2 separate regions of the Homo sapiens genome follow, and region 2 is linked to region 1. Evidence: promoter capture Hi-C in 16 types of primary human blood cells and fetal thymus (Javierre and others, 2016). All regions are on one chromosome and are shown on one strand. The core of a region is centred on a gene start or on the middle of the fragment in contact, and the rest is flanking DNA. Distances in the headings are between cores, read along the strand shown. Region 1 holds the start of FHDC1 (FH2 domain containing 1). Region 2 overlaps ARFIP1 (ARF interacting protein 1).

The links. The method cuts DNA at HindIII sites, captures the fragments that hold promoters and counts their contacts. A CHiCAGO score of 5 or more calls a contact.
Region 2: a fragment that was not itself captured here is called in contact with the fragment with the promoter of FHDC1 in region 1 in 1 of 17 cell types (erythroblasts); the score reaches 7.9 in erythroblasts.

Annotation. Positions count from the first base shown.
Region 1 is chr4:152,934,079-152,937,941 of GRCh38, forward strand. FHDC1 (FH2 domain containing 1) reads left to right here and starts at 2,245. Exons shown (of 12, transcript NM_001371116.1): 1 at 2,245-2,331. It overlaps LOC729870 (a long non-coding RNA gene), which reads right to left and starts at 2,759. Exons shown (of 2, transcript NR_136614.1): 1 at 2,571-2,759; 2 at 438-1,372. RefSeq lists silencers at 2,201-2,290, 3,623-3,863. The HindIII fragment of the contact is 3,900 bases long and covers 494-3,863 here.
Region 2 is chr4:152,847,152-152,851,014 of GRCh38, forward strand. All of the region lies in intron 2 of ARFIP1 (ARF interacting protein 1), which reads left to right. Among named protein-coding and RNA genes, the nearest start is that of ARFIP1, 69 kb to the left of the region's middle. RefSeq lists enhancers at 54-554, 3,266-3,560, 3,447-3,863. The HindIII fragment of the contact is 1,321 bases long and covers 1,047-2,367 here.

The DNA of each region.
Region 1 (3,863 bases), core at 995-3,494:
CATGGTGAGAATTAAGTGTGGTGCCTGATATGTGGCCAACAGCAGATAAATACTTGTTCCCTCTTCCACTACTTGGGGTTACTGCAGTGATGGTGCATGTGAAAAATAAAACAGGTTACTTGGGAAAGAGCAGCAAATTTAGCAAATACTTGAATTTTAAAGAATTTAAGAGAGACAAGCAAAGGAAAAGCTAGGATTTCAAACAGAAAAACCAGGTCTTAGGTAAAGAGGGGGAGGTGGTGGGTGTGGGAAGAGTACTAGTTTTGAGGGAAAGATGAGTTGATTTTTGGATATTTTTATTTGGACTTGAAATTTTACAACGATAATATGGATTCAAGAGTCCCTGACATTGAAGAGAAACCCGGAGATATACCTTGAAGCTCAAATTTCCAAGCCCCTCATTTTCCCTGGGCCCTTCCAAGGATACATGTCTAGTATTATGTTTGTAAGTTTTTATTGCTTTCCTTTAAGAAGTTCCCCCAGGAGTTATACAAGCTTCAGGTCCCACGACATCTGGATGGGTTCAGTTTGAAATCAGAAGGTATTTCTTTGGGATACTGGGAGATCGAGAGTTGGAAAAACCTTGTTACTGTCCTCAAAGGAAGAGAAGGGTCAGCAGAGAAGTCCAGAGAAGCATAGAGAAGGCCTTAGGGTAGGATGCTGCCAAGGAGATCAAAGGGATGAGGGGCTGAGAATGGGTCACCAGACTTGACTTCTCAAAAAGTAACTGTTTTAGAGTGCATGCTCAATACAGTTGGGGGGAGGCCCACTGTCACGGGGTTGAGGAGGGAGGAGTAGGCAAGGGGTGTGGACTCCCCATTTAACAAGGTCGACAGTAAGAGAAAAGAAGATGCCACTCAACTCCTCACTTTCGATCTGCTGTAATTTAACTTGAGCCTGAACAGTCAATATTCCTTTGGGATTCATATTAGCTCCCTGAGCATGACATTGTCTTTCTCTTTATTACATTTTCTTATTCCTTAAGATTTTAAGATTTTCTTAATTGGATCCATTTCTCTTCATGCACCATCAATGGCCAAGAAATGGGCTATTGGCAGGCACAGTTTTGGTTTTGGGGTTGATTGGTTTGTTTACACTAATAGTTTCTCTTTCTCGATCCAAGGCTTGACCAAGGAGGTCAGGAATTCTGTCCTGGGAGTTCAGGGACTGAGGACCAGGATGGAGGAAGCAAAAGGCGTCAGGCATTAGGCTGGAAACGTCTTGGTCGGTTATCTAGGATCAAAGAGTCAAAGGTAGCGATGACTTCATCCCCGTAGAGGGCGCCTCCCTACCCCGACAGTGGATTTTCGGTCAGCCGGTTTGCCCGGGATGTTTTCTTTGACTACTTGCTTCTCACTGGCGCCCCAAGTCACTTTGAAGAAAAAAAAAATGTGATTAAATCGATTCCCCTGTTTCTTTCTGTGAGGAGTGTGCCTTTCCCAGACAGCGTGCGTTCATTCGATGAGGCCTGGCAAAATTTTTGAGGGGTCTTTTTACGCTTTAATACAACCTAAAGGTTTCTGTTACCATCATCATTGAGAATTAAAAACAAAAACAAAATAAAAAACGGTAACAAATTTACAGCTTGGCAGGCCCCAGGGAGGAGCTGACCTTTGCGAAGCTCTAGCGCAGCCAGGTTTCAGCTGTAGGGGTTGGGACAGGTCAGTTCGCCCAAGTGCTGCTAGCTCTCCAGGGAGAAGCAAGTGTTGGGGCAGAGGGTGGTCTGGCGCGTGCGTCGGGGGGCGTGTGCGGGTGTGTGTGTGTGTGTGCGCGCGTGTATATAAGAGTGTGTGCGCGCCCGTGTGCACAAGAGAGGGTGCCTGGGAGGCTGTCGCAAAGGCTCCTTTGTGAAAGGCACTTGCAGGTTCAGAAGCCAGCTTGGCGCCTCCTCTCGCCCGTTCCCCGAGGACACCTGGCTCTTCTGGGCAGCCCAGCTATCTCCGTCTCCTGCCGCCCCTACTTCTCTCGGTGGCCCCCGGCCTAGCCCCGCACCAGCCTTCGGGTGCGGGAAGCAGTGTGCCCCGAGGCGTCTCCCCCGGGGCCCCGCGCAGGTGAAGGTGAGCGCGTGGCGGTGACGGTGGCGCGCGTAGGGTGGAAGGGGAGGCGAGGGAGGGGCGGAGCAGGAAAGGGCGCGCTGCCCTTCCCGGCCGGCCAGGAGCAGCGAGGCCGCAGCTTTGTTACCTGAGGCTGCCGCTGCGCCCCGCCCCGCCCTGCCCCCTCGCGCTCAGGGTTGGCTGGGCCTGCAGTGACCGGGAGGAGGCGGCTACGCCGACACAACGGCGGGAGGCTGCAGCGGTCTGCGCGCCGGGAGCGGGGGCGCGCTGGCCGCGGGTGAGTGCGGGTCGGGCGGCCGAGGCGGGGGCGACCGCGGCGCGGGACACGGGGAGCTGGAGCCCCGCCGCTCGGGAGGGTCAGGGTTGGGGTGTTGTCCGGGACCCGAGGCTGAGGCGCCGAGAAGCGCGGCTGATGGGTGCCGGGTCTCGGCTTCCTCCGAGCCTCACCGGGAAAGCTGGAGAGGAGGTTCCAGTTCCCTCCACATCCACCCCGGTGACTTTGGCGGCCGCCCTTACCCGGCCACGGAGAACAGCGATCGGTCCCTGGAGGCGAGGACGCGCCGGTGTGGACCCGCGTCTGGAGAACGAGCTGCATCGCCAAGGCTGCTGCGGGTCGCACCTGGGCGGTTGACTATTAGTCGTGGCTAAGACTTTCAGATCAACCGCCCCCTAGTTTATCCCGACCCTTGGGAGACAGCGGCGTCCCGCACGGAATGCGCAGCCGCGGCGCCGCGCTCGGTTCCCTAGCCAGCCGGGGGCCACGCCTGGCCCCTGACACAGTGGTGGGGCGGTGGCGGGGACCTAGTGCGGTGGTGCGGACCGAGGACCAGGCGCTTCTCGCCCCGACAAACTTGCTCCGGCCGCGCGAAGTTCGGATTGCAAGTTGCGCCCCGCGCCTGCAGGAGTGTGGGGAGGGGGAGGAAGCGGGTGGGCTGGGGATCAGCCTCCAAACAAGGGGTGTCCCCAGCTCTTGGAGAGCGGGTTCTGACCGGTTTCAAACGCCAGGAGTCTCCCCTCTGTTTTTCTCAGCGGCTCGACCCGGCTCCCTTTTGGCAGAGCCGCAGTGCGGCCGTGAGGCTTTTCCCCCGCGCCTGCGACCTGGATGGGGGACGTGGGAAGATGTCGCGGCGGAGGCTCCGGGTGGGTTGGGAGCGCGCGGCCGCCGCAGACCCGGTGTCTGCGAGCCGGAAGACCCCCCCTTTCGTTTCATTCACACGGACACCTCCCCTAGTTAGCCGTCTCCCACCCAACTTCTGGGCGCAGCGTGCTAAACCCCCGCAGAGGGGCTGGCGCCCTGGGGGGCGTGGCGTGGGGAGCGTGGGCTTTCCAGCGTGGGCCCCTCGGGGAGGGGGGCGGGGCCGAGACCCCCTCCAACTGGAGGGGCCGGGAATGGGCGAGCGGGTGCGGCGGCCGACCCAGCAGCTGCAGCCGCCGGACGGGAGAGCGGTCGGCGCTGCGGAAGGCCGAGGGTCGTGCAACGCCCGCGCTGGGCGCCCGCCCCGCAGTCCCCGCCCCGCAGGCCGCGGCTTCTCTCCCCGCCGCAGAGCTGGCGCGGCGCGTGTGGGCGTCGATCTCAGCGCGCACCGGCGCCCCACCCTCGCGCCGCGACGCCCTTCTGCCCGGCGCTGATAAGGACGCAGCTGGGGCTCCGCGCGGCCCGTGGGCCGCCCACTCGCGTTCAGTTTGCTGACCCCAGCGCGGCTCCCCGGGGATTCGCGGCCCAGCCGGTGGCGGCTGAGCCGGTGGCTTGTTGGTGAGTGGCTCGGGCGGGGACCGGGGTGCCGGGTTGGGGATGTAAGGAGGCTGCGG
Region 2 (3,863 bases), core at 457-2,956, 87 kb before region 1:
ACAGAGTCTCACTCTGTCGCCCCCAGGCCGGAGTGCAATGGTGTGATCTCGGCTCACTGCAACCTCCGCCTCCCAGGTTCAAGCTGTTCTCCTGCCTCAGCCTCCCAAGTAGCTGGGACCACAGTCATGTGCCACCACGCCCGGCTAATTTTTGTATTTTCAGTGGTGACAGGGTTTCGCCATGTTGGCCAGGCTGGTCTTGAACTCTTGACCTCAGGTGATCCTCCTGCCCTGGTCCCCCAAAGTGCTGGGATTACAGGCATGAGCCACTGCACCCGGTGTCTTCTTTTTATTAAGATGGGGCAGCAACAGCCAGATGTGGAGAGGATAATCATCTTAGTATTATCTCAGTTTTTTACAGCAAAAATATTTCTGCTTCTAAATAAATGCATTTTATTTAGAAAATAAAAATAAAATTATTATTTTAAGAATTATTCTTTAAAATTATTCTTTTAAAAATTATTCTTTTAAAAAAGAGTATTACAATTTAATCTAAATAATTCAAATTACTCTGATTTGTAAACTGTGTGTAGTATTTGTAATGGATGCTGTTATAGTGCTGGTCAAAATTAATTAGAAATTTGCAACTCATACCATGAGTTTAAGAGCAGAAGCAAATCATACTAACTCCACATGGTTGAAACTTCTTGTGAATTAATTTATAGTTGGTAGATTTAAAGACATTGCCTCCTTAGACCTAGCTAAAATGGAATTTTTCCCGTGGAAGGCCCAAAACAAAAATCCACTAATGTAGGGTGTTTTTACCTATGAACACTTTCTCTAGCAAAATGTCCATACACAAACCTACCAAATTTTGCATTCAGATTTAGTGAGCTTAGGACCCCCTGAACCCTGCATAAGGGTTCTCAGGTTCCCTGAGTCTTAAGAACCCCCCACCTGTAAGTTTTAAGTGATATCACAGAGTATTCGTTCAGTAGAACTACCTTAGAGATCTCGGAGTCTCACTATGTTATTTTATAGTGGAGAAAAAAGGCCCTTGAAGTTGTTATGGAATTACCCAGTATTAATTAAATAGCTGTACCAAAAGCTTATGTGATTTGACTATAACTGCAGTGAGTGCAAGAGCGCTCTCTTTCATTACCTTATTTCCAGGGTTTGGTAACAGTTTTTGGCACTTACTACCAAAGAGGGCCTTTCAATAAATGGTGAATAAATGAATGTTTATTCACGTAAGAACGAGGACGAGGACTAGAAACCAGATTTTTAGACTTCTCTGAAAAACCAGGGAAGAGATATTGTAATCTTATATTTGATACATCTTGTGTCCTTAATTTCCCTGCATGTGGTATTTGGGTTTGTGAGTGTGAGTCTTTGTTGTTATAGTTTTATTTTTAATGATTTTGTTGAGCTAAGTCGTTTCTTCATTCCCTTGTACTTAGCAGTCTGCAATATCATACACTACGATCTGCAGAAGATTTGGGAAAGAAATACAAGAAATTGTTGGAACACTGTTCCTCCAACTCCTACCCCCACCAGTCACATGTTGTAACTTATTTATCTCCTTTTCCCAAGAGATTGGAATCACTGTTAGGTCAGAGATAGTGTGTATACACAGCACAAGTTTTGGTTCATAGTAGTTGCTCAATAAAAGAATGAATTCTAGTAAATAGACTTAAAAGTTGACATCTTTTCTCCTTCAGCCATCCTACCCTAGGGTTTTCATAGCATGTGATTACAGTTTGTCTCCATTCTATATAGGAATGCAATATAATGTTTCCACGTTACTCACACATAAAAAATGTAGTAGCTCGGTCAATGGCAATAATGATTTGATGGGGGCTTTTTCAGAGAGCCAGTTTTGACCAAATATGTATGTTGATCCCTTTTAGAGGTATGGCAAATGGTTTTCAAGGATTGTTTAACCCATACAAATCTAGATTCATTTTAATACTGTTTGCTTTTCAGCTATAGGCTATACTTTTAATACTATTACTACAAATTAAAATTTTAAGTATATTTTTAATATACACATACATTAAATTAATTCTGGATTGAGAGTCCTGTTGAAAATACAATTCATAATGAAAGGTTGAAGGCTTATCTGTCTTAATTATAATCTGAGAGTGTGCCCTTATTTATAAACAAAAGCTATTAGTAATATGTTTTTTTTTATTTCTTGGAGGAATTTTGTTGAAAATACAATTCATAATGAAAGGTTGAAGGCTTATCTGTCTTAAATTATAATCTGAGAGTGTGTCGTTATTTATAAACAAAAGCTATTAGGAATATGTCGTTTTTAAATTTTTTGAAGGAATTATTTTGAATGTAGATACATATAAATATTTCCACAGTGATAGTATGTGAATGAATTCAGTATTTCTTTGATGCAAGTTGGTACATGATTCAAGCTTTTGAACTACTTAGAATCTAGACTAAGTGGGTGAGGCCAAGAGGGTAGGCAGTGAACCACCAAAAGGTACTTGTAAGTTCTTGTTAAATATTGTTGAATGAATGGGAGAGAGGGAGAAAAGAAGATTGAAATTGTGTGTCTGTGGCAGGCAGGTGTGTGTGTGTATGGTGGTAAATGGAAAAAAATCAATAAAAATGTTAGATTTACTCTCTTGATTAGATGGAATAAGATACAGGAGGATATTGTGATCATAAAGTGAGTTATTAAACTTATTTAAAGTGAGAATCTAGAAGTGTTGCTTCCGAAGTGATGACAAGGTCTAAGAGTGGCAATTTGAGTTTAGGTTGCCTGAGTGGAATATGGGGTATGAAAGATGAAAGGCATTAGAAATGAAGATGTTAATGAAATCTGAGACTAAGGTGTAGATTGGGTTATACTAAGTCTAAAATGTCTTTTATCTGCCCTGACACTTTTTTGGCATGTTGTCCAACTACAGATTCCCAAACCTGATCCAGATTACCAATTTTACGCATTTCTGCAAGTATACGGAGGGAAAATAAAATCACATACCTTTACATATCATTATTACTATCCCCTGTCATTCTGCATCAGCATAGGTAGGCAGGCTCATGGAACAGATTTTAAGTGTTTTACAATTTATATTTTAAAATATAGCAACTTACTACCTACCATAACATTAGTGGACTGTATTTTTAATGATCGGTGAAAACTTTCAGCCTAGACAGCGAATATATCAGCTTGGAAGGAATTGCTAACTGAACATCTATAATCATTTCCTGAAAATGTGCCCACCAACATGCAAAAGGTTAGAAACACCCAGTTTAATGGTGAGAGTTAGGGATAAAGCAGAAGCCCTAGATGTGCCAAAGTCTTCAATAAATATTTGAAATTGACTGGAAAGAAGGTAGATGACAATGTTGAGGTGGGGACGAGGGCAGTGAGGAAGGTGACACACAGGAAACGGGGGGGTTGGGTAGGGGCAGAGTTGCACAAGAATGGAAAGCAGTTCTCTACAACAGTTCCTCAAAATAGACTAAGGATCGCCTGCATCAGAATCACCTGATTTCCTTGTTTTGAAATTCGGATTTCTGGGCTTCACATTCCAACTCAGTGAGAATCACCACACAGCTAAGAGCAATCTGCATTTTTAACAGGATCCTCAGGTGATTCCTACTGAAATTAAGGTTTGAGAACTGGTTGTTTAGAAGTACCAATAGAGAGTTTAGAAAATGCTGACCCTGCCTTCTAACAATAGAATATTGATAAGTAGAATGTTGGAAGATAATCAGTTTTATAAAACTCAAGATAATTGTGGAGAAGCAGAGAGGCCACTTAAGGGGGGTTAATAGTGTTACAGAACTGGGGATGTGGAGGCTGTTGTAATAATAGCTTTGCTTCTGGCAGATACTTTTTATAGACAGCTAACTGTTAAACTAACAAAGGAGATTTTAAATTAACAGAATTCATCAAA